Linked DNA regions of Homo sapiens: all the other regions are linked to region 1. Evidence: promoter capture Hi-C in 16 types of primary human blood cells and fetal thymus (Javierre and others, 2016). All regions are on one chromosome and are shown on one strand. The core of a region is centred on a gene start or on the middle of the fragment in contact, and the rest is flanking DNA. Distances in the headings are between cores, read along the strand shown.

Region 1 (4,197 bases), core at 341-2,840:
GTCTATAAAGCATAAGGAAGTTTATTAAGAAAGTAAAGGAATAAAGAATGGCTACTCCATATGCAGAGCAACCCTGAGGGCAGCTGGTTGCCCATTTTTATGGTTGTTGATTATATACTAAACAAGGGGTGGATTAATTCATACCTCCACTTTTTAGACCATATACGGTAACTTCCTGACTTTGCCATGGCATTTGTAAACTGTCATGGCGCTGGTGGGAGTGTAGCAATGAGGATGACCAGAGATCACTCTCATCACCATCTCGGTTTTGGTGGATTTTAGCTGGCTTCTTTACTGCAACCCGTTTTATCAGCAAGGTCTTTATGACCTGTATCTTGTGCTGAGCTATCTCATCCTGTGACTAAGAATGCCTTAACTTACTGGGAATGCAGCCCAGGTCTTAGCCTTATTTACCTAGCCCCTATTCAAGACGGAGTTGCTCTGGTATAAATACCTCTGACATTCTCACTTATAAGTGGGAGCTAAACATTGAGCAAACATGGACCTAAACATGGAAACAACACACACTCCAGGCTACTAACTAGAGTGGGGAGGGCGGGTGGTGTGGGTTGAAAAACTATTAGGTGCAATATACCCATGTAGCAAACCTGCAACCTACCTGGGTGCAATATATCCACGTAACAAACCTGTACCTGTACCCCCATTTGTAAAATAAAAGTTGATTTTTTTTAAAGGCTTACAACGCTCCCTATGACCTGGCCCCTGCCTAACTCTTCAGTCTCATCTGTTACTCTCCCTCCAATTGTGTTTCAGCCAAACTCAACTATTCTGTTTCTCCATCAAGCTTTTGCATATATTGTTCCTTCTGCCTCTTCACGCCTCTTGACTCAGTTAAGATGCACTTTTACCCTGTTAGCTTTCAACTCGGGTTTACTTCATCCAAGGACTCTCTGACCCTCTTCGCCCCCAAACTTGGTAACGTTCTTCTGTGTGCTCCCAGAGCACACACCCTGCCATATCAGAGTTGCCTGTTTTGCTCTGTGCATTCCCCACCAGACTGCAGGCTCATTGAAATCATAGGCCACATTTTGTTCATCCACATATCGTAACCACCCTCACAGTGGCCTGGCACGCAATAGACACTCAATACTCTTTCTTGAACGAATAGAAGATAGGAGATTTAAGCACCTGGAAGAGAAATTTTGAGCAGCAGAGACACTGGGAGGCAGCCATTTCAGACGAGGTGAAAAAAGGTTCAAAACCTTCTGCGTCAGGAGCATGCGAGACACAGTCCAACCTCTTCCTTGGCCTCAGCCCCGCCCCGTTTCTTTCACCCAGAACTCGCCTCACCCCCCTGCGCTAGTGACTGCTTGTGACCTCATGCAGGTGTGATGAAGTCGCTCAAGGCCATGCTTGGGCTAAAGACACTTTGATCTTCCCGAGGGGGTGAAAGGGCGAGGTGACAGGAAAGTGCGCGTCTTGCTTTTGCACTCATAGTTATCATCCACCGGGGAGTCGGTACACCGGCTCGTCTAGACAACCAGGCGCCATGGGTGCGTCATCAACTAGTGACGGGAGAAGACGGGGCGGAGAGAGATCCGTGAAGGAAGTGACGTAAAACGAGCGCCACAGAGAACGCGAGCCGGGAGTCCGTGGAGGCCATGGCCCCTCGGCGCCTCCTGTTGGTTGGGGAGGGGAATTTCTCCTTCGCCGCCGCTCTGAGCGAAACCCTGGATCAGAGCACTCAACTTACCGCCACCTGCCTCCAGCGCCCGGCCGAGTTGGCTCGGGATCCACTGGCCTGGGAGAATCTGCAGTGCCTGCGCGAGCGAGGTAGCGAGCCCGCCCCTCTGCGAAACCCCGCCCAGCGGCCGGCGCGTCCCAAAGTGGAAAGGGTGGGGGCGTGGGGATGTAACCCACGTGGAGATTGTTCTTGATCGTCCCACGGATATTCACATAAAGCCGGCTTTGTGCCCAGACTTGGGCTGGTCTGCACGGTTTAAGTTAGGAAGAGTTTTTCTGTTCCATGTCTTGAGGCATCCTCCTGTCTATATTTTGCGCCCCCAAACTATCTTTGCCAGGTATCGATGTACGTTTCGGTGTGGACTGCACCCAGCTGGCAGATGTCTTTGAACTGCACGAGAGAGAATTTGATCAAATTTATTTCATCTTCCCGCATTGTGGACGCAAAGCTGGCGTAGCTAAGAACAGGGAACTGCTTGCCAAATTTTTCCAAAGGTGAGGAAAGGAGCGCCCTCACAAGGAAAATGTTTAAGATGTCCATAACATAGTTACTGTACCCAAACATAAGGCACACGTGCAAGCTACTATGATATGTTTAGAAGAGACTATAAAGCCCCAAAGGAACCCCAAGTTTAGTTGGAAAGACAGATATATAAACCCTAAATGCTAAATGAAAGTACAAATAATGTACTCTTGGGTGTGTAAAAGAGGATCATTTATTTTTGACAGTGCAAAATAATGAGAGCCATATAGTCTAATGGCTAAGAACGTGCACTTAGAAGCCAGACTGCCTGGATTCAAATCCCAGCCCACCACTTAACAGTTGTTATTTTTTTATTTTTATTTATTTTTATTTTTTGAGACAGAGTCTCGCCCTGTCGCCCAGGCTGGAGTGCAGTGGTGTGGTGCAATCTCGGCTCACTGCAAGCTCCGCCTACTGGGTTCACGCCATTCTCCTGCCTCAGCCTCCCAAGTAGCTGGGAGTACAGGCGCCCGCCACCACGCCCAGCTAATTTTTTGTATTTTTAGTAGAGATGGGGTTTCACCGTGTTAGCCAGGATGGTGTCGATCTCCTGACCTTGTGATCCGCCTGCCTTGGCCTCCTAAAGTGCTGGGATTACAGGCATGAGCCACCACGCCCGGCCAACAGTTGTTATTTTAAGCAAGCTTACTTAATCTTTACATGCTTCCGTTTCCTCAACTGTAAACTAGGGATATTAATAGTAACTAACTGGGCCAGGCGTGGTGGCTCATGCCTGTAATCCCAGCAGTTTGGGAGGCCGAGGTGAGCAGATCACCTGAGGTCAGGAGTTTGAGACCAGCCTGGCCAAAGTGGCAAAACCCCGCCTCTACTAAAAATATAAAAATTAGCTGGCCGTGCTGGCACGTGCCTGTAGTCCCAGGTACTTGGGAGGCTGAGGCAGGAGAATCGCTTGAACTTGGGAGGTGGAGGTTGCAGTGAGCTGAGATCGTGCCACTGCACTCCAGCCTGGGCGACAGAGCAAGACTCCATCTCAAAAAAAAAAAAAAAAAAAAAAGTAACTAACAGCCTCATAAAATTATTGTGAACTGAAAACAGTGCTTTACATGATTATACCACAAGACATGATACTATTGGAGGTGTCCGATGGGGCATAGCTGTCAATAAAGTTTTGACAGAGGTGGTATTTTAAACTAGTATTTGAATTTCAGGAGGGCAGTGAAAAGAACTTTCTAAATGGGAAGAAACAGCCTAAGCAATGAATCATATATAGGAACTGTGCAGATATTGATCTTTCTGTGACATATGCATGAATGACACAAATGCAAAGCAGACCCTGGTCAGCCAATCTTATCAGTGAGTGGGTTGAACATTTAATTTATGCTTCTATTTACTTCCAGCTACTTTCTTTGCATTTTTTGAGGTCTAATAGATTTTTGCACATAGGTATGATTGGATTTTAATTATTTCACAGGCAAACCATGTGTATGTTGCCAACTCCTGTGGTAATTTCTGCTTGTTTATGATAATTAGTTAGTGTTTCTTTTCTCCCTATTAGCTGTGCAGACGTTCTTGCAGAGGAAGGAGAAGTCCACGTGGCATTATGTAGAGGACAAGGTGGAACTCCTGCGGATAAGCCCCAGAGAGAATGGCACAACAGTTGGCAAGTGGTTGCCATGGCAGCCCTGGGGGGGCTCATTTTAAGCGACGTGTATCCATTCAGCTGTAAGGCTGTGGCAGGGTACAAGTGCACTGGATATAGGTAGGTAATAGCATAGGTTTAAGCCTTCTGCGTTTTCATCTCTCTCACTAATGATAACAAAATCTCATAGACAGACTCAATAGGCCCTGCCAATTAATTGATTCGGTCTCTAAAAATACTTGCTTATTTTAATAATGACAGACTTCATATTGGTGTCTATTTTGCCAGGAGTCAAGATAAGTCCTTTCATGTAGAAGGTGCTTTGAACCATATCTTCACCAGGAGCTTACCTTTTGAAGGTTCTCAACCC
Region 2 (4,197 bases), core at 675-3,174, 500 kb after region 1:
ATAGATGAGGAAACTGAGGCTAGAAGAGTTATGTGACTTGTTGAAGGGGACACAGTGAGTGAGTGTCAGAGCCTTCATGGGAACCCACGTCTCCTGTGACTGAGGCAGGCCTGAGGGATGTGCCTCTGTTTCTCATGGAAACTCCTTGGCGCAGCCCAAGGCCTTGAGATGCTGCCCCCTGCCAGGCCAGGGTGTGGGCTGCCAGCCACCACAGCATGGGGGCCTCCACTGTCCTGAACTTCAGAGGCTTTGCGGGGAGGGCTTATAGGCAGCCAGGAGACAGCCTTCTCTGGCTTTTAAGTGAATCATTTATAAAATGTTGACAGCATTTCTCCTCAAGACCTGCCCTCAAATCAGCAACCGATTAGAGACAGTAATTCATAACTTTATCAGATGAATTTTTATTGGGGGTCACTATGCTCCAGGTCTTGTGTGGGGCACTGGAGAGGCAAAGATGAAACCTCCTTGAGAAACTGTCAGAGTCATGTGACAATTCACCATCACATAATGAACAAAGTGCTCTAAGATCTGAGAAGACGAACAAGTATTCTCTGGGCTGGGGGTTTGTCCTTCCGGCAAGAGAGGACGGCAAGGTCAAAGGCAGGGAATTGCATGGGTGTTTGGTGGTGCTTAGAGGGCACTGGGACCAGTGGTAGGAGGGCAGTTGGTGGTGAGGCTGGAAAGGAAGGCAACGGCTCGATTGTGGGAGGCCTTCTAGGCCTCCAGCTCTGTGGCTGAAGGGAGAAGGTGAATGCTTTGTAGGCTAGGGGATAGCATGATCAGGTCTAGGTGGTGCAAGATGGCTCTGAGGCAGTATGGATGGCAGAGCAGCAAGGCCCCACACCTGCTCTAGGGGGTGTGCCAAGGGGTCTTGACCCCAAACTGACTGAGTCCCTGGAGCCTGAGCATGTGGACCTCAGATATGCAGTGGCAGAAGGCTTCCAAACTGTGAAGGAACCGGTAGCCAACACCATCTACACTTCCAGATGGTGAGCCCATGACTTACTTAAAGAAGCTTCCTGTTATCAGTGGGTGGGCACTCGCAAAGAGGCTCTGTTCATCTTGTGCCTACAAGCCCAGATCCAGTCAAAGAGCACGGGCATGTTCTCCTTCCTTCCTTGAGGGTTGGCCTCTTTTTCCGTGGGCATAGCCGACATCAGAGCCAGCGCCCCCATATTTCAGCATGATTAAGCCTTGCCATTTTGGGGGTGGCTGGGGGCGAGGGGAGGGGCTACTGTGTTTCAAAATGGAATAAACAGAAAAGCAATATTGAAAGAATGAGGAGGTTGTTTACTGAGGCTTGAAGAGATGACAGGTGTTTCCTCCCAGTTGAGAACCAGTGACCCCTGGGAATCGCATTTCCCGCTGAGCAGGCGCCCATGGCGGGCTGAGTCCTGCCCATGCCCTGGTGGCCTGGAAGCCTGCATGGGCGCCGTGCAAAGATCAACGTTTTCCAGAGGAGCTTTTGGGCTCATCACTGGCCTGGGGAGGGCTTGACACGGGGTTCCCACAGCTTGCCCCACACCACCTTCACACCCACACACAGCAGGTCCCCGCGGGGCCGGTGCAGGCTGTGGCTGCCCGCGCTGCGCTGTTGCTCTGTCCCAGCTGGCTAGCTCCGAGTGTGGAGCGCTCTGGGCCGGGGCCGCTGGGGCGCGCACAGTGGGGTGACAGGCGGCCTGGCTGCAGAAACGTTGCACCGGTGCCTGAGGTGGGAGGATGTGATGACGCGGCCCACGCAGCGGGAACCCAGGCCTTTAAAAAGCCCAGGAAACAGCCTCAGCTCAAGCGGTGGCTCCACTGGAGGAAAACACACCCCGGTCTCACATTAAAGAAGCCAAACTGTCGGCTTCAAAGAGAAAAGGCAACATCCTGTCACAGGCCATGCTCTGGCAAAAACGTAAGTGGTTTGGCTGTGGCTGTCAGACCCAAGCGAGTGCCAGCGGGGCAGGGCGATCACAGCTTGGTCTGGAATTGGGGAGCTGGTGGTGGAGGTGATGGGGCCACGGGGGGAGGGGGTCTGGGTTCCAAGCCCCGGAGCAGGGAGGGGGGAGGTGGGCGGGATGGAGCCTGGTGGAGAAACCAGCCTGTCAGAGGTGATGCTGATTTTCCAGGCTGGAGGGGAACGAACTAGTGTTCCAAGGTGGGACGGCTCAGGGTACCTCCGCTTCTGTGCATGAATCACTGTGGTGAAGAAAGGGCAGTTTATGATTCACACAACAAAAGCCAGATGTGGGATGGGTTTGGGGTTGGGAGGGAAAAGCCATGCAGTTCTTTACAGGAGGGGCTTTATTTCCATAAGCAGTGGCTCTTCAGCCTTCTGTTGAATTCCCTGGGCCTGTTTCTAGCTGAGTGACTTAGCTTTCTGCCAGGTGTGACTTGTCCCTGTGGATACCCTGGGAGGAGTGGAGATCTGGCTCGGTGAAGCGTGTCCTCACTTGCTCCACTGTCTTGCCTTTCGTCATTCTTTTTCCCCTTCTGTGACAAGGCTTGTCCATCCCACTGCAAAGGATGCAGTGGGTTTATCTTTGGCCTTGATTTTTATCCCCGGAGTTGGATGAAACAATTGTGAACTTTATTTTCCTTTATGTGGACCAAACAGCGACTTACCTTACTAATAACTGAAATAATACAGATTATTTACAACATTCTTTTCACGAGGTAAACAGCGTCAACTCATCAGCTTCTGAGAGTTGAACCTTATTGGGGCTAGTTCTATACTTCCTCAAGCAAGAAGAATGACCAAAAATTGCTCTGTCTTTCTCTTAAAGATTCTTGGTTCCTTAAAATTCGTTTTAATTAATTTTAGTATGCTGTGCCTCAAGCAAGCTTAATATAAGAGAATCTAGATTTACAGAAGAAGATATATTAGGGAATGTTTTTATTTTATGGAAAGATACTTGATTGGATCCACTAAAGTTCGGAAAATATAACTTCATTGATTAAAATGTGACACTGTCATCACCAATTTATTGTTTGCTTTATGTCTTATGTAAATTTCTCTGGAATTAAGCTGATTAACCAGTAACACAGAAGAGTGATTTCAAAATTTCTCAGGTTGTGAAGACCCACCATTGTTTGATATCAAAAGGTCAATTTTTTAAAAAAATAAAGAGAAATGAGCTTTAATTTGGGTTTGAGAGTTATGGACTCCTTCCAAGATAACTAGGAATATTCAAGAATTGTTGGCACGCCACTCTTCCCAACAGGCGATGGAGCAGCGGCAGCCTATCCTTTCTGGGACAATGGCAGCTGACCCTGTTGTGAGTGCTGTGTGGATGAGAGCAGGTGGGCATTCATCTTTTTACTGGGGGCCCCTAAGCATCTGTGTGCCCTTTCACTCAGGGCTGAATCATTTGATTTTTGTGTGAGCCCCTGGAAGGAGTTTTGCCTCAGCTCCTACCTTCTATGAGCAAGCCACTTTCCTTTTTCTCAATCCTTAGGTTTTTTGTATGTTAAGTGGGGGTAAAAATCATATCCACACTGAGGATCTATCCTTAGTAAGTGAGGTGCCACCGAAGTCATGTTCATTGCTCTGTCTGCATCAGCCTCTGAGATATGAGTTGCTTCCCTGCATTCACCATCTGCCATATTCTCCCCTCTTGGTTCTGTAGTACATTTTTTCATTTCTAATTCCTTCTAAGAGATGAACAGACTTTTTTTGTTTGTTTGTTTGTTTTTTGAGACAGAGTGTTGCTCTGTTGCCCAGGCTGGAGTGCAGTGGCGCGATCTCGGCTCACTGCAACCTCTGCCTCCTGGGTTCAAGTGATTCTCTCGCCTCACCCTCCCTAGTAGCTGGGACTACAGGTGCCCGCCACCACACCCAGCTGTTTTTTTTTTTTTTGTATTTTTAGTAGAGATGGTGTTTTACTATGTTGTTCAGCCTGGTCTCGAACTCCTGGACTCAAGTGATCCACCCGCTTTGACCTCCCAAACAGGTGTGAGTCACTGCACCTGTCCCCCAAATTTTTTAAAGGGGATGCTGGAGGGCATGCTTCCTGCTCACACCCTGGAGACCAGTCAGATAGATCAAAACTCCATTGTAAGGGAGACCACATTGTAAGCTCATCAATGGAATAACTGGGGTGAATGTTTCCACATGTTCAGATGAACACAAATCAAAATTATCTTGAATTGTCCTTTAAGCCTTAAAGGAAAAGTAGGAGAGACCCTGGGCTCTGGACCCACCCCCTTAGC
Region 3 (4,197 bases), core at 791-3,290, 420 kb before region 1:
TCTGAAATTAGGACTTAGAGGCATCCAGTCAATCTGAGCTGGTTACTTGGATAAACAAGAGGAAAACTCAGGAGCTATGGGGCATCCATTTTATGCCATGCACGTGAGGAGCAAAGTCACATGTACACCCTGAACAGGACTTTGTTTGCAATTAATGTTTCTTTTACAGGGATGCAGAGGAAGAGAATGAACAAGGACTATGGGCTCCTAACAGCTTCAGAGCTCCCAGTCCCACCTCTTAAAAGGCCCAATTGTCCTGGGATCTTGTAAGATATCCCAGTATCACAATGTACTCTTTCCCCTTCCCGCACCCCGCTACCCCACAACTGGCTGTAGTTGGTTTCTATTATTAACAACCAAAGAACCGTGAATGAGACCCTAGGTAAAAGAAATTACCCACCATCTGATGACTGCTTGGCATGGCTACAAGCTACCAAAAAAGGTCTCACTCACCCTGCCTCCTCCAAAGGTGCAGGCAGCAATGAGATGTAGAAAAGCATTGGAAGGCAACCTTGGAGGCCGCGGACACTTCATAAGTGGTTTAAGGCAAGCAGAACATGACGAATAAATAAACTGAACTCATTCCCAGACCTAATTTTTTTAAGTAAAATAAAATCAGGTCCACTTAGAGTTTAAAATGGCATTTGGCTAGAAGTTCCTGACAAAGTGTCTCCAAACTTCTCCCTAAATTATTTATTACACAGAAAAATGACAAAAACTCACAACAATAATGAAAATGAAGACTAACAACCTGTTACCAGAATCTAGAAGGAATCTCTACTAACTAAATAAAGCTGCTAAAGCTGAGCTGCATTGAGACAAACAGTCCATGCTTCGCCTTAGAAAACAGAACAGCACATTGTCTCGAAAGATGATAGACATTTTCTTTCTCTCCTACTGTCTACCCCCAGTTCAGAGACCCAGGACCAAGCCAAATGAAAACCTGGCTCTCTATTATGACTGCTACTCTTTGGAGGAGCCGGAGAACTATTCCCTCTCCCTCTATCTACATCCATTCATAGAATGCAATTACTGGGAAACCACAGAGTAGGAAGGGGAAGAGGATTAGCAATGGCACGTCATGTTTTGGAAGGCATTTTTTCCACACAGCATGCCTTATAGGAAGCACAAAGGTAGTTTGTGCTGGAGAGTAAGATTTTCACATCCCCCATCAGTTCTGTTTGTTAGAGAATAGGCAGAAGAGGAAGGGAGAGATCCCATGCCAGTTCAGCAGGGCCGCACAAGATGAATGCCCTTCAATTCTGGGGAGCTGTGCACCACAACTGACCTTCAGCTACAGACCTAGGAATAAGGCAGTGAGCAAAGCCAAGGACAATCTGCACAGTCTACACTTCCTCTTTTAGCAAGCAAGCACCAAGGCTCCATGGAGCTCTACTTGCTTAAAGGTAAACAATGTGCCAGGCTGGAATTGGGGATATAGGGGAGGGAACCCTCAGGAGGCCTATGGAAAAACAGCATTCACCATAAGAGAATAAGGGAAACAGAGCCTCACCCAGAAGACTAAGAAAAAGAGCACACTTCTGAAGATAACTTACTATAGAAACCAGAAGAAAATGTTTTAAAACTGGCATTTATAATATAAAAACATAATATGGCCCTATGAAATTGAAACTGAAAAACATATATATACACATACATATATATATACACACACACAAATACATATAGATATATAGATACAGAAAACAAGCTGAGTTAAACTGATATCAGGATAAGCTTCAAAGACTGGCATGTGAGATGACATTTTAGGTTCTTACAAAAGTGTGATGGGGGGCCGGCTCCCTTGTTTATGTTAGACCTAATTGTGATTCTTTTAAAATAAACAGTGAAGCAAAACTTTTAGGATATCAAGAGAAAGCAGTTAGCTAGAAGAGTGGAGTTTTAAAAAATATGTCATCTAAAACAATATTAAACAATATTCAGATATGATCCACTCAGACTTCAGCCCCTTACTACTTGTAAGTGTTCTTCCCTCTGCAAACGTCCGAGCAAATCAGACCAGCACACACCCACTGGAGAAGAATGGCATTCTAAAGCTGCTTCTTTTTTTTGGCAGAAATGATGGGACTGTTAAAATTCAGTAATGATTTTATTACCTCATTTGAGATCATTTCATTGTCCAAGTTATTCTCTTTTTTCAGTAGCAACAGCAAATTTGGTAAGAAAGCAAAATCCAGCAGTTCTCATACAAATATTGCAAGAATTTTGTTAAAATATTTTAGGGTACATAGTGATTTCAGAATATGTATTATTATAGTACCTTTAGCTGCTGTACAAATACGTCCAATGTTTGTATCTTGGCTGAAGTACAATAAAAGCTTATCTGTCACTTACAAAAGAGCTCAAGGCAAATGTTCCCGGTTGGCAAGAGCAGCTGTCCACCCTGAGCACCCAGGCTAACAAAGTTTCTGCCACCTTCACCATGAGGCCCCAAGGTTGTCACTGTCCTCTCATGGCACTCAGCTGGAAGAGGGGAAAGAGAACAGAGGACAACTCATTAAAGGCTCTTATGGGGAAGTCCTATATGTCACACACATCACCTCCATTCACATTCTACTAACTAGAATACAGTCTCAGGGTAAATATTAGGGGCTTCAGGCTTATGAAAGAGAATTTGGCCAATGGAGTCCAAGAAAAGATATAAAGGAAACTGGTTGTAACAAGAGAAAGATATTCCCAAGAAAATTAAATTATTAAACAATAATTAAAAGTCATATAGGAAGGAGTAAATGAGTGAAATGGACATGGCAGAAAACTAAGGAATATCTTAGATGGCAAACTGGAGGAACACTTTCAGAATGCCAAGAAAGAGCACCAAGAATTAAAACTATTTCCTTAATTCTAAGATGTCTGTGTTGCCACATCATCACTTCTGAAATCAGGCCAAGTCTTGCAATCACTGGCATCTTATAATCACCCTGGGCCAGGGAGCTGCCATGGTGAGGTCATCAAGACCTGGGCATGGGTGAACTTGGTCTCAGTTGTTCATGTTGTTAGCACTTTAATTGAGTTGTATACATTGTTGCAATTACATGTGAGTTTAATTGCCATTTAAAATGTCTTTTAAAAGATTACACTATGGTTTGGCATTGAAATGAGAAGTTATTATGTATGCAGAAAGGCATGGAATTCAAGCAGCAGGATGTAATTTGATATTACTGAAGCAAATGTCTATTATTGGACCAACCACTGCAATTCTTTTTTTTTTTTTAAACTAAGTGCTTGACAGGACCCAAGAAAAGAAGGTATCCTTAAGTAGAAACTGTGTTATGTTTTGTAACTGAGACTCATGCAAAAAGAATTGCCTGTCACATGCCAAACAATGCAACCAAAGGCAGGAGCAACTGCCAAGTCCCTCAAAATAGATGAAGTCTATCAAAATAAGAGAGAGAATGGTGTGAGCAACTTACCAATTTCACAGGACTGTAATCATGGCATTATGTCACAGTTTAATTGGCAGCATTTTTTCTTCCTTAGTTGTACATATAATAATAGTGCTTCTTACAACAAATACTAGCTTAGATTCAATAAAATACAGTACTTTAAAAAGAAGACGATAGCTATGGAAGACCAGGAATAGAGATTGAGCCTAAGAGTTATGTTTCTGAAGAAGAATCTAGAACAATCAAAAGAGAAACAATAATTGAAGATATAATTAAAGAAAACTTTCCAAAAAAGTACAGAAAGGGCAAACAGAGGAATGGACTCAGTTCACCAGGTTCCAGGTAAAAGTAACCAAGAAACACTCAAATCCAGAAATATCCTGACAAGTTTTTAAATTACAAGCAAATTTTTAAGTGTTTTCTTTGTACATTCAGAAACAAAAGAAAAAGGAAGGAAGGAAGGAAGGAAGGAAGGAAGGAAGGAAGGAAGGAAAGAAGGAAGGAAGGAAGGAGGGCAAGAAGGGGAAGGGGAAGAGAAGGGAGGGAGGGAGGGATGAAAATTGTGCTGACTTTTTTGTGTCTACTACAATGGAGCAGTAGCTGACAGAGTTTTTATATGGAAAACACTTAGATGAAAATTTTACTCACAAATAAGTTTTAGTTTTTGAGGACAGACAACCAAAAGAGTTCAGAATGTCTGCCACTCACATATTCTTTAAATCACTTTAAAATATATTTCAACTGCCCAAGTGATGACTTAAAATTACTCAAGAATGGAAAAAAACAGAGCGTC
Region 4 (4,197 bases), core at 743-3,242, 350 kb after region 1:
GGTATTGATCTTACTGTTCCTGCTTTGTCTCTTAGTTGCCACCATGTCTCTTTCAGAACCTTACTCATCTCTTTATCCTTCCTTAGAGCTTAGCAGTGCTTTGTATGTGATACTCAATGGATTTTTGTTGAATTGAATTGAATTGATTGAGTCATGATGTATGAATGCAATCATTGTACTGTGTAATCCACAGTTATTGGCCTAAGCAAAAAACAAAAAGTTTTGGAAAATGAAATTAAACAGTGGGTAAATTTAGTTTTAAAAATCCCCTATGAACAAAATTATATGAATTTTTCTGTGTAACTATTGGGAAATCATGGACCAGTTATATTGTCCTGTGCTTCTCATATAAAAAGACAAATATTTAGTTACAAGATTCAAAAATAATAGTAGAATAACAAATATATTCATTCATTTTTTTCCTTGACTTCAAGTTATTTTTTATTATAAAGGACTTTGGTGCCTTTAAATATCACATATCACATAATGCACTAGAAACAAATATTTCAAATATGATCTGATTTCTGCCTCCTGGACATGTTTCCTGGAAATAAATAACAAAACTAGTGTAAACAATTGTGTCATCTAAACAAAAACATTGTGGAATATTCTAGGAAATCTCTGCCAGGAAAGCTAAATACAATTCACTGGTAAGAGAAGATCCTTATAACTTATATTATTAGTAAGGAAGCATAACTTACTTCTTAATTTCATATTAACAAAAAATTTTCATTTCTAATTATAGTGTTTTGGTTGGGCTTATTAATGGAATTTTATAAGACTTTATAATTATTCAATTAACTGTTAATACAAGGGGGTCAGAATTTATCTTTATAACATCTTTGACCATTGACTAGTGACTTATATTTATATTTTTATTTATGATTTATATTTATACTATTCCTGAAAAAATAAATTGTGAAAGAAAACTGATTCCAGAAAATTAGGATGTGATATAACATATACATTTAATGTGTTATAGATGGTTAATGAATTTTAATGTCACCTCAAGAGTTAAATTGTCTGGTTCTCTCTTTTTGGCTTTTCAGAGCCAAATGACTTGAGTGGCAATATGTATTAGTAGAGTCAAATACATTTGGTTTGAATCCCAGTTCCGCTGTGTGTTGAATGGCAAGTTCTAGCTTAACTCTCCCGCCTGGTTCCTCCTTTCCCCACCACAACTATGCAGTAATCACTGACATGTAAGTTAGAGCTTCGTGATCTTAGGTAAACCAAAGAATCCACAATCCCAGTTGTGGATTTCTAATCTGTGAGGAAGGTTGTTGTGAAAATTGGAGATAAAAATTACTTAATGAAATGCATGACAGATGGTGAACATTTAATAAATGGTAGTTATTATAACACTATTATTATTAGAAAATTTTTCTTTCAGTGCTTTTAAAATCTTGAAAAGAGTAAGAAAAAAGAGGACAGATTGTCTGCTTTTTGTCTACAGGCATGAAGGAATTCTTACGATTCAACCTCTGACCTATGGGTCAGTTGGTGAATACAGTTTGAGGGAGGAAAGGAGAAACAAGGAGAGATGTTAAAGATATGATTTGTTATTAAATATGCAGTGCAAATTCTTCTGACCACGAATTTTCTGGTGTGTTATCAACTTTCTTTTCAGTTAATATTCAATTATAAAAAAAGCTCTTAATAAACACTAGACTTTAGAAGAAAGGTCCTTTCTTCTCAAGACCTGGTTCCCATATACAAACTGCATTTCTTTCGTGGATTATGATTGAAATTTTTGGACTGAAACATTCATCAAAAATAACACGAGGGGCCGGGTGCGGTGGCTCATGCCTGTAATCTCAGCATTTGGGAGGCTGAGGCAAGAGGATCATGAGGTCAGGAGTTCGAGACCATCCTGGCCAATATGGTGAAACCCCGTCTCTGCTAAAAATACAAAAATTAGCTGGGTGTGGTGGTGCACGCCTGCAGTCCCAGCAACTCGGGAGGCTGAGGCAGGAGAATCGCTTGAACCCAGGAGGCGGAGGTTGCAGTGAGCCGAGATTGCACCACTGCACTCCAGCCTGGCGACAGAGTGAGACTCTGTCTTAAAAAAAAAGAAAAAGATTAAGAGAAAATAATATGAGTCTCATTTTAACACTATGAGCAAGCCAATCTTCTGTCTTTTAATCAGGATGTGGATACTTGAGTGATCATGCCTTTAGTAATCTAGTCATCATCCTTTGAGAGTTACCCTTTTAGTCAAAGCATTTCCATTTAATGCTAATGCTTATTTTGAACCTGCTAAAATTTTATTTTTCAATCATGGGTTTGGAAAAAAAAGGAAGAGGGGGAAGCAGAGAAGATAAAAACAAACTTTCACTGAGTAACTGCTAGATATCAGGCCTTGTGTGAGTTCCTTATAGGTTATCTCATTTTATCTTTATAGCACAGTGAAGTGGGCATTATTATTATTACCTCTTTACAGGTAGAAGAAACTAAACCACGTAAAAATGAACAACTTTTATCAGGGTCACTTAACTAACTAGTAACTGGCAGAGCCAAAGATTTAAACTCATTTCCAGTTCTGTTGGATGTCATTTCCTGTGCTTCTTTTGCCACACTTCAAACACACAGACTTCAAACACACACAGACTTCAGACACATGCACACACACACACACAGAGTGACAGAATGGTTTCTTCATTCAATCTTTACTCTAAAAATGAGTTAGCATCAACCATGCTGAAGAAGAAAAATATAGTCTCTGCTCTCACAGAAACATTCTTATTCTTGTAGAAAACGCATGCTTATCAGAATACAGCAGGTGGAGCTAATCCAGCTTGAGCTCAGCCTTGATCATAGTTAATTTACTTATTTGAAGGTATCATGTGGCTCTTTGCAAGATGTGGCTAAAGGGTAAAGATAGTTGAATTATAGTGGTATTTATAAACTGAGGAGCTTTCTAAGATCGTAGTGTAAATGAAATATTTATGCAAGGATTTTAAATTATAAATTAATTGTAAAATGGGAATTACATTCCAAATTCAGAATATTACCTAGGCAGAGCCAAGGTTCTATGGTTTAACAGAAATTGAGAACATTATCTGATTTTTATTTCCTTGAGCCTCCAGAATTTAATTTTCTTTTTTTTGAGACAGGGTCTTGCTCTCCACTCAGGTGGAAGTGCAGTGGCACCATCAGGGCTCACTGCCACCTCCACCTCCTGCCCCCTGGGCTCAAGCAATCCTCCCACCTCAGCCTCCCAAGTAGTTGGGACCACAGGCACATGCCACCACGCTTAGTTAATTAAAAAACGATTTTTTTTTTTTTGGTAGAGATGAGGTCTCCCTGTGTTGCCTAGGCTAGTCTTGAACTCCTGGGCTCAAGCCAGTCTCCCACTTTGGTCAGCCTCCTGAAGTGCTGGGATTGCAGGCATGAGCCACCATACCTAGCCTTAATTTTTAATTCTATCCCAGTGATTGAGAGTTAACTGTCTATAGGTGTACTAGGGAATTTCAGTTCACATTCTGCAAGAATCTCACTCCTCAGTGGGTTCCATTTCATTTTTATGTTACAAATGCAATCATTAGGAAGGTGAGAATTATGATTGACTTAAGGTTTTTATTGATTTATCATTTTAAAACATCTCATATTTGGGCCTGGTTTCAAAAAGCAGTATGCATCTTGGCTTGCTGATTTTGATAACAGAATGCTTCAACTATGAATTTACTCTATGAATTTACTACCATTCCCTGTGCCTATTAACTGAAATCTGCTATGTTGATTCTACAACTACCATATAGGAAATTTATATCTACTCTAATAATAAGATACAGAACTGTTGGACCTCAAATTATCTACTATGCACTTTAAAAGACAGGCTGAATAATCAGTGAGAAGGCTTTCCCCAGTATAATCTGATTTTAAAAGATAGACCTAACTATAGTAATCTATGGGAGTGGATCGAAGATGTTACAGGATTATTAATCAGAGAAAGGAAGAATGCTGACTTGCAGGAAAAAGATGCAGATCTAAGCACCTTTCTATACCTCCTGGAAATTGCTTGATCTTGGCTCAACTCCTAGGTCTGACATATACACTTTTCATTTGAAAAATAACAACTTACTAAAATGAGAAAAAAAATTAGTCATTATATAAGAGGGAGTCAATACAATTTTTCTTAAATGCAGATTTCAATCAAGTATGAATTTATCTGTTGTGAGGAAGAAAAAAATGTGT
Region 5 (4,197 bases), core at 791-3,290, 320 kb after region 1:
ATGAGAATTGCCGATGCACAGGCCAGCCTGTGCTACCATATGTGGGCTTTGAAAAGATTCTGGATTTTCTGTCTGTATGATAATATGTGCTGCTGTATAGAGCAAGGAAAACAGAGGTGGTTTTCCAAGCTCCACAGCCCATCTTTATCACTGCCAGGTAAAGCTCTGTCCCTTAAAAGTTAGATACAACCAACCAAGTGACATTTATTGAGACTCTACTATGTGCCAGACCTGGGCAAGGTACCTTCTCATAAGGTCGAGCTGGATGACTGGCTGGGATAAAGGATACAGCCAAAACGTGGGGGTCCAACAGGAGGTCGTGGGGACCACATGCTCATCCACAGGACCTGATCTAAGCTTGTTCATAGACCTTCTGTGTATTTTCCTTATAGAAAATAAGAGGATTTTGCTTATCATTTCTTTTCCATTGTTGTCAGTTTCAGTTTTTTATATGTCCTAATAACCATATATTTCATTTTCCACCCATCCAGACTCCTTACTCCTCCCCATTTGGTCTGGGGAGAACTCATAAATGTCATTGGTCACAAATCCACTCTCCACGCTCACCAGAGTCACAAACCCACTTTCTGATGGGTTCACAGCCATGTTGTCATAGTCACAAGACATGTCATCGGGAGTGGCTTCTCCCGAACACACTCGGAATGAAATATTCTTCAGGTCTGGCCGGGTCTCAGCTAAGTCAGCTTCGCTTTGTTTTCTTATGACATTGTAGACCTCTAGGTCCGGGCTGTTTCCCTGGTGAGGAGAGGGCCAGATGGTGTGTTGCTTCTTTGTGCTAGGGTCTGGCTGCTCCCGTTTTCTAGGAAGAAAGAAAACCAGGGCTGAGTGTTTTAGACCAGGTGATTGAGAATACCCTTGTGCTTCCTGTTGAGACGAGAGGAAGCAGCCCTGGGCAGTCACCCAGCTGCATGTCTCGTCTATGTAACTTACAGGCCAGGGCTTCGGAGTGGGAGGGAACCAAACAGGGAGATGTTATGTTCAAAGTGATTGTGTATCTGTCATTCACTGCTGCCCAAGTGTGGGCAGGGTTATTATCCTGGGGTTCCCTAGAGTCCCTGGAGTGTCCAGGGATAGAACTGAATAGAGAAAAAATACCACATTACAAAAAAAACCCAAAAAAACAAAAAAACACCTCAGCTGTGCACAGTGGCCCACGCCTGTAATCCTAACACTTTGGGAGGCTGAGGCAGGTGGATCACTTGAGCCCAGGAGTTTGAGACCAGCCTGGGCAACATGTTAAAACCCCGTCCCTATAAAAGATACAAAAATTAACCAGGCATGGTGGTGCACACCTGCAGTCCCAGCTAGTTGGGAGGCTGAGGTGGGAGGATAACCTGGGAGGTCAAGGCCGCAGTGAGCTGTGATGGTACCGCTGCACTCCAGCTTGGGCGACAGAGTGAGACCCTGTCTCAAAAATAAAATAAAATAAAATAAAATAATAAAATAAAATAAAATAAAACCAAAACAACAAAAAACACGACTCATCCATAAGTGAAATTTAGCATGTCCTTCCATTATGAATGTAAGAGATAAAACAGCAGGATTAATATCTTTGACTTGATCACTACTAGAAATTATAGATGTTTTCATATCACAGTTATAGATGCCTTGAAATATTTTAACCTCATCTCTACTTCAAAATTATAATAATTATACCCAGCACTAAATAAAGAAGCATTAATAAAGGAGTACATGTATTACTAATCACATATTCATTTTTGGAAATATTTTGCTAAACTATATAACAGTATGATTGCTTCCTTTGCAACCCAATGTATTTTATTTTATGCATTTAAAATATTGTACTGGGCCGGGTGTGGTGGCTCATGCCTGTAATCCTAGCACTTAGGGCAGCTGAGGTGGGCGGATCACCTGAGGTCAGGAGTTCGAGACCAGCCTGGCCAACATGGTGAAACCCATCTCTACTAAAAATACAAAATTAGCCAGGCATGGTGGTATGTGCCTGTAATCCCGGCTACTTGGGAGGCTGAGGCACGAGAATCACTTGAACCCGGGAGGCGGAGGTTGCAGTGAGCCGAGATTGCGCCATTGCACTCCAGCCTGGGCGACAGAGAAAGACTCTGTCTCAAATATATATATATATATATATTTTTTTAAATAAAATAATAAATAAAATAAAATATTGTTCTGGAAGGAGTCCATAGGCCTCACCAGACTGCTGCAGGGCACAAAAAAGATTAAAAACCCTTGGGATAGACAGACACCCCAGCTTTAGAGTCACAATTCCCAAATCCTGTTAAAGTACAAAACAGAGAGTCAGGAAAGGAAATCAAGAACCAACTGAGTAGGCAGAGTAGGCAGCTGGAAAATATGCCTGTAATTTTTTGAACTAAATTCTACTTTAAGATTCAAAGGAAATAACTAATAAAATAATCCCAATAATAGGTAACATTCAAGTGCTTAGTATATACTTATTCTGCAAGTATTAACTGCCTTAATCCTTATAATAATCCTACAAGGAAGTTACAATTAACTGAAATAGATTTTACATTGGAATCTTACTAATTCATCTCAAATTGGTCTTTAAAGGGAGTCAAATCTTAAATTGGGCCTTAGTTTTCCTGTTGTAAATGGGAATACTAGACATCTTCTCCATATACCATGATGATGGAGAATAAAAAGGTAACTGAGAAGAGCTTTCAGTACTAAAAATAAAATAAAATAAAATAAAATAGTGGCACACGATCCTGACCATATACAGAAATTGTTGATGCCACCTAGTGTAGCTATTTTATAGCACTCTATACTTGTGTACTGAATTAAAAGAAAAGTCAGTTAAAAGGAATTTGGCTCTTTCAGTTTGAATTAAGTGGTTTAGTTTCAGATGTTTACCAGAATACTTTGCAGCAGTCATTTTTCATATGGCTCACTATTCATTCCTTCACTCAGTCCACAAACATTTTCAGAGTGAGGGCATACATTCATGAGAGCATTTTTGCTGGGTGACGTGTGAGTGCACGGGAGGTGAATAATGCAATTTCACCCTTCAAGTTGTTTTAAAATCTTCCACGTACAGACAGTAAAGCAAGTAAGATCACTCTCTTAATCACAACTAAGCACAAATGCCTAGTACTTCTGAATGCCCTGACCTGTCAGAGAACCCACTCTCCAATCTGCAATGGTGATACTCTTGGTGCTGCCGTGGGTTTTAATGAAGTAAACAAGGCAATATCCAAATCTCAAAGAGAGCAGAAGATGCAAAGGTTTACACAATGAAGGTTTTACTTGCCTTTTTCTACAGATCCAAACCCAACATACAACTGTGGTGACCACAAGGAGGAGGAGAAGGGGAATGCTGGGGATTAGGATGTAGGCCAGATTCAAGGCAGCTTCTGAAAAGAAAGAAAGCACATGATCAGCATTGGCTGTTTTTTGTTTTGTTTTTCTGTGCTTCAAACCAGGCTTAAAAAAAGCATAATCGTCAAAAACCACTTGTACCCCCAAATCTATTAAAATTAAAAAATTAAAAAACAAAACAAAGGAAAAGGCTAATCAACACAGAGTATTCCAAAGAGCTCATTCCTGAGTGATCAAGACACATCTAGCCAGTTAGCAAAGAGTCTTCTGGTTTCGATGGATGAGCATTTTCTACCTGTCCTATTACCCTAAGTGATAATGAAAATCAGTTTAAATTTTTAGGTCTTCCAAATATCAGAAGGGCACTTTTGTTAATTAAGCTTTTTGTTTTTTTTTTCAGAGAAAAGAGAGTCTCTCTTTTCTTGTCCTCCCTTAGTAAAGCAGGGGCCGCTGGGGCAGTGTTGATGCTTTTGCCTCCAAGGACAGTCACGGAGTTCCCACGATGGGATGGGGGAAAGAGAGGGAAAAAGAAGCAAGCCAGAAGTTTCAGTGTCATTACCAGGAAAGAGGTCACAGGAAGCAAGTAAATTACAGTGTAAAACCTTTCTGACATTTCTAAGACCAATTAGATTCAGTTGGGTCCATGAGCCATGACTGTGAAGAGCACTTAGAGGCTTACTTTTCTGAACTTTCTAGTCCTTTAAGACTTAGAACCAAAGATGTTCCCCTCAAGTGGCTTTGGGAGGAATCAAGGATTGGAGGCTAACCCTCTTCCTACTCCCACTGACCCAAGCTTCCTGACTATCCAGAGGCTGTTGGCTTTTCTTCTGTGAGATTGCAAACCTGACCACCACTAAA
Region 6 (4,197 bases), core at 636-3,135, 300 kb after region 1:
AGAGCCTGTGGGACTCAGGAGGCCTTCACTGAGCCTTGCTTTTCTGCTAAGGTACTTGTGTGCAATAGACTGTTCTTAGTTGCTCACCTCTCCATTTTCTCTGGGCCTTTGAGGGAGCAGATGTTGATTATTTTGGTTGAAAGCTGGAACTAGTATTCATGGTGGTTGAGGCCATACAGTTGTTGCAAAGAGATACAGATGCATACACAAGATAATGGATATGTTTTGTCTATTGATTTTTCTTAAATTTTTTTTTATAGAGATGGGGCCTATGTTGCCCAGGCTGGTCTCGAACTCATGGACTCAGTCCATCTGCTCATCTTGGCCTACCCAAAGTGCTGAGATCACTGGTGTGAGCCATTGCACCTGGCCCCATTTATATTTCAAGAGCAGCATTATATTTCTACTAAGATGGTAAATTTAATGTGGATAAACATTACCTTGTAATATTCTGGTAAGATCAATATATTTTGAAGTTAAAATTTAAAGCCTCATGTTTGCCATTTAAGGATGTATATTTATTTTTGTATGTTTAACTGCATTTTGTATGTCTAAATAGTGGAATATTAAATTTATTGAGAAAAGGGAACTTTAAGTGATAAGGAGGAGAAAGCCAAGTATTTCAGAAGAACATTGAGCTTTGAGTATACGATCTCAACTTGTTAATACTAACAAGTGTATTAGTCCATTTTCACACTGTTATAAAGAAATGCCTGTGAGGCTGGGCATGGTGGCTCACACTTGTAATCCCAGCACTTTGGGAGGCCAAGGCAGGTGGATCACCTGAGCTCAGGAGTTCAAGACCAGCCTGGGCAACATGGCGAAACCCCATCTCTACAAAAAATACATAAATTAGTCCGGCATGGTAGCATGCGCCTGTAGTCCCAGCTACTCAGGAGGCTGACCAGGAGAATCACTTGAACCCGGGAGGTGGACATTGCGGTGAGCTGAGATTGCGCCACTGTACTCCAGCCTGGGTGACAGAGCGAGACCCTGTCTTGGAAAACAAAACAAAACAAAAAACAAAAACAAAAGAAAGAAAAAGAAATGGAAATGCCTGAGACTGGGTAATTTATAAAGGAAGGAGGTTTAATCGACTAACAGTTCCATGTGGTCGTGGAGGCCTCAGGAAACTCACAATCAGGGCAGAAGGGGAAGCAGGCACCTTCTTTACAAGGTGGTAGGAGGGAGAGAAGTGCTGCAAAGGGGGAACTTCCAAACACCTATAAAACCATCAGCTCTGGTGAGAACTCTCTCACTATCACGAGAACAGCATGGGGGAACCACCCCCGTGATCCAATCACCTCCCAGCAGGTCCTTCCCTCAACACAAGAGGATTACAATTTGAGATGAGATTTGGGTGGGGACATAGAGCCAAACCATATCACAAGAAATAACAAAAAGTTTTTCTGTGTGCAACTAGCAGAGATTCCAGGTATCACTAAAATATACTTATTTGAAGCCTGATAACATTTTGTCTGATTTTTAAATCATTCACTGAAATAATTTTTAAACAAACTCTACTTCTGAAAAGACTACAATTCCTAATATTGTTACACACTACTGTGTATTTTCACCATAACAAAGATTGTAACCATTTCGCATGTTTAGGCACTTATGATTTATACTCCCATCTTGTCTCCTTTGACAATTTTTTTTTTCCTCGAGATTGAGTCTCACTCTGTTGCCCAGGCTGAAGTGCAATGGCGTGATCTCAGCTCACTGCAACCTCTGCCTCCCAGGTTCAAGAGATTCTCCTGCCTCAGCCTCCTGAGTAGCTGGGATTACAGGCGCCTGCCACCACACCCAGCTAATTTTTGTATTTTTAGTAGAGACGGGGTTTCGCCATGTTGGCCAGGCTCGTCTCAAACTCCTGACCTCGTGATCTGCCCGCCTCAGCCTCCCAAAGTGTTGGGATTACAGGCGTGAGCCACCGCGCCTGGCCGACAACTTTTTAGACTGGCTTTTCTCATATTCTGAATAGTAAAACTGTTAATATATCTTTTACAACCAAACTGTCTTTGAGGTTTCTTTCTTAGACAACATCAAAGTTTATTTTCTCATTTTGTAAAAGGAGGGTTGCCGGAAGTCATTGAATATACTTGGAATTCTCTGTATTTGTGACGGCATTTGCCAAGCCCATAGTATAGGAACGGTTGGCAAACCAACTTCCCTAGGTCAATTATATACAAAAATATACAAAGCATGTTATTAATATTTGGTCAATTATATACAAAGCATGTTATTAATATTAAAATGAACATGTTTCAGCAATTGTAGTCTTTCAGGACAGATAGAGCATACTCAAGGTAATGTGTGAAGACTGGCACAATAACTGTCGGCAAGACTTAGTCAACGTTTCTGTTTTAAAATACTTGTGTCAATTGGTTACCAAAAAATACACATTGGGATAAATTAAAAAGTCCTGGAGATCTGTCAATGCCTTTGTTGTCTATAGGATGTTACTACTTTCGGAGCAATTGTTGATTAAATCCTTTAAAAATACTTGTACATTATGTCTCATTTTTCTTATTGTAGATACTATTAATTATTATAGTAAATTAACCCAAGCCATTCAGTCTTGTCGTCAACAGGTAGTTTCTTCTTTTCCTTTGCAATTATCTAAACACCCTTGATATTAATCAATAAATTAATAATGGAGTCTCTGGAAGAAACATCAAGGGGATCATAACCTCAGCAATGGCCTCAAATAGGTTCTTTTAACTATTGACACTAAATGGAACAGATTCATGGACACAGGCTTTCCAGTATAAGCTGACACTGTCACCTGAAGCCCATGGTTGGACTGTGTGACTGAGCATTTCTAGGACCTTTTATTTAGTCTAAAAGCAGATGACTTTGTGATAGTAGGGTTACTTAAACCAAGTTCAGAAAACAAGAATTAATGATGCAGGATGGAAAGAAATTAAGATGAAAATTCACTTGGGGCTAATCTATATTCTGTTTGGCAAATGAGAACAACACCCCTTTTCTTTCTTCTTGATCTATCACTAATTCTCGATTTAATAAACAAACCCTGTACGAAGTGGAACAAAACATTCTTTAAATGGTATCTCATTACAACTGATGTCTCAGAATTCAGAAAAAAAATCTATAAAATATCTTAGGGTATAGATTATAAGTGAATAAATAAGAGAAAAATCTAAGAAAACTGATTCTGAGAAAGAGTGACACACATTGATTGGCTTGTCTGTAAAACTGCATGTAACAGTGGTTATTATTGAAGTGCCATTTGTTGCTTCACTTTATTTTTTATGACCATGTCATTATTTACATAGGGTCAGTACACCTCTGTCTTGGGATATGGTTAGATAAAGAAAATTTGTCACGTTACCATGCAAGAAATGTCACATTTTAAAACAAGTCTGACTTAATGAGGCACGACAAGCTGACTTTAAGAAACAGGGACTGGGCCGGGCGCGGTGGCTCACGCATGTAATCTCAGCACTTTGAGAGGCTGAGGCAGGAGAATGGCTTGAACCCAGGAGGTAGAGGTTGCAGTGAGCCAAAATTGCACCATTGCACTCCAGCCTCAAGAGCAAAACTCCATCCCCCCTCACCCCCCCCCCCCCCAAAAATAAGACACAGGGACTGTACTTGATATGTGGAAATGATGCCCACAACATCCTCCCAGGAAACTTACCTTGTACCTGCTCTCTGGCTAGTGAAATCTCAGCCTTACAGTTAGTAACGAATGCCACTTGCTGACATAGCAGGAACATTGACAGACTTGGGGACCTCAGAGAAGGAAGGACGTCCTAGTTATGTAGTTCTTGAGGAAAAGCGTGGTCCGGGCAAACTGGATGCCTTTTTTCTCCTAGACCTAGAAAGGACAAGCTGATTGAGAACAGCAATTCAAAATCATCTGCGAAACTGATGTGATCAAAATCTGACTAGGGGCTTTGTGAAGCCTCTAGACAGAATTTAATTCTCCAATCCTTCGTATTTTAAGGCTTTAATTTTTAAAACCATACAGCAAAGAAATCTCCTAGTGTTAATCCACACCTTTTGTAGCAACTATATAAATTTAATTGGTCAAAGAGAAAAACCCATCAAGTTAATAATATGGATCAGAACATTTCTGAACAAACCCGTGTAGTCAAATTATCTACACTTCTGGCAGCCCCTGGCCAGAAGGAGGGGCTAAGGAAGCATGAATGATATCTTGCCTTGCTG

What was found. Contacts are between HindIII fragments. The CHiCAGO score rates a contact against its expected background, and 5 or more counts as called.
Region 2: a contact is called between a fragment that was not itself captured here and the fragment with the promoter of FDXACB1 in region 1, in 2 of 17 cell types (non-activated CD4 T cells and activated CD4 T cells). The highest score is 6.7, in non-activated CD4 T cells.
Region 3: a contact is called between a fragment that was not itself captured here and the fragment with the promoter of FDXACB1 in region 1, in 1 of 17 cell types (naive CD4 T cells). The highest score is 5.3, in naive CD4 T cells.
Region 4: a fragment that was not itself captured here is called in contact with the fragment with the promoter of FDXACB1 in region 1 in 1 of 17 cell types (fetal thymus); the score reaches 5.4 in fetal thymus.
Region 5: a contact is called between a fragment that was not itself captured here and the fragment with the promoter of FDXACB1 in region 1, in 2 of 17 cell types (total CD8 T cells and fetal thymus). The highest score is 6.4, in total CD8 T cells.
Region 6: a fragment that was not itself captured here is called in contact with the fragment with the promoter of FDXACB1 in region 1 in 2 of 17 cell types (erythroblasts and naive B cells); the score reaches 5.3 in erythroblasts.

The regions. Positions count from the first base shown.
Region 1 is chr11:111,876,558-111,880,754 of GRCh38, reverse strand. FDXACB1 (ferredoxin-fold anticodon binding domain containing 1) reads left to right here and starts at 1,590. Exons shown (of 5, transcript NM_138378.3): 1 at 1,590-1,794; 2 at 2,043-2,199; 3 at 3,744-3,947; 4 at 4,116-4,197. The coding sequence starts at 1,623. CFAP68 (cilia and flagella associated protein 68) reads right to left here and starts at 1,214. Exons shown (of 4, transcript NM_022761.3): 1 at 1,150-1,214. The coding sequence starts at 1,194. RefSeq lists enhancers at 1,337-1,806, 1,303-1,922. The HindIII fragment of the contact is 2,066 bases long and covers 808-2,873 here.
Region 2 is chr11:111,376,865-111,381,061 of GRCh38, reverse strand. POU2AF1 (POU class 2 homeobox associating factor 1) reads left to right here and starts at 1,787. Exons shown (of 5, transcript NM_006235.3): 1 at 1,787-1,900. The coding sequence starts at 1,885. RefSeq lists enhancers at 631-850, 1,071-1,160, 1,811-1,860. The HindIII fragment of the contact is 1,814 bases long and covers 1,018-2,831 here.
Region 3 is chr11:112,292,014-112,296,210 of GRCh38, reverse strand. It overlaps LINC02762 (long intergenic non-protein coding RNA 2762), which reads right to left. Exons shown (of 4, transcript NR_126004.1): 2 at 2,282-2,484. Among named protein-coding and RNA genes, the nearest start is that of LINC02762, 23 kb to the right of the region's middle. The HindIII fragment of the contact is 602 bases long and covers 1,740-2,341 here.
Region 4 is chr11:111,527,251-111,531,447 of GRCh38, reverse strand. All of the region lies in intron 3 of HOATZ (HOATZ cilia and flagella associated protein), which reads right to left. Among named protein-coding and RNA genes, the nearest start is that of LAYN, 11 kb to the left of the region's middle. The HindIII fragment of the contact is 5,067 bases long and covers 1-4,197 here.
Region 5 is chr11:111,556,718-111,560,914 of GRCh38, reverse strand. It overlaps LAYN (layilin), which reads right to left. Exons shown (of 7, transcript NM_178834.5): 6 at 3,272-3,374; 7 at 1-820. The coding sequence ends at 457. Among named protein-coding and RNA genes, the nearest start is that of LAYN, 18 kb to the right of the region's middle. The HindIII fragment of the contact is 3,362 bases long and covers 360-3,721 here.
Region 6 is chr11:111,575,026-111,579,222 of GRCh38, reverse strand. No RefSeq gene overlaps it. Among named protein-coding and RNA genes, the nearest start is that of SIK2, 25 kb to the left of the region's middle. The HindIII fragment of the contact is 8,958 bases long and covers 1-4,197 here.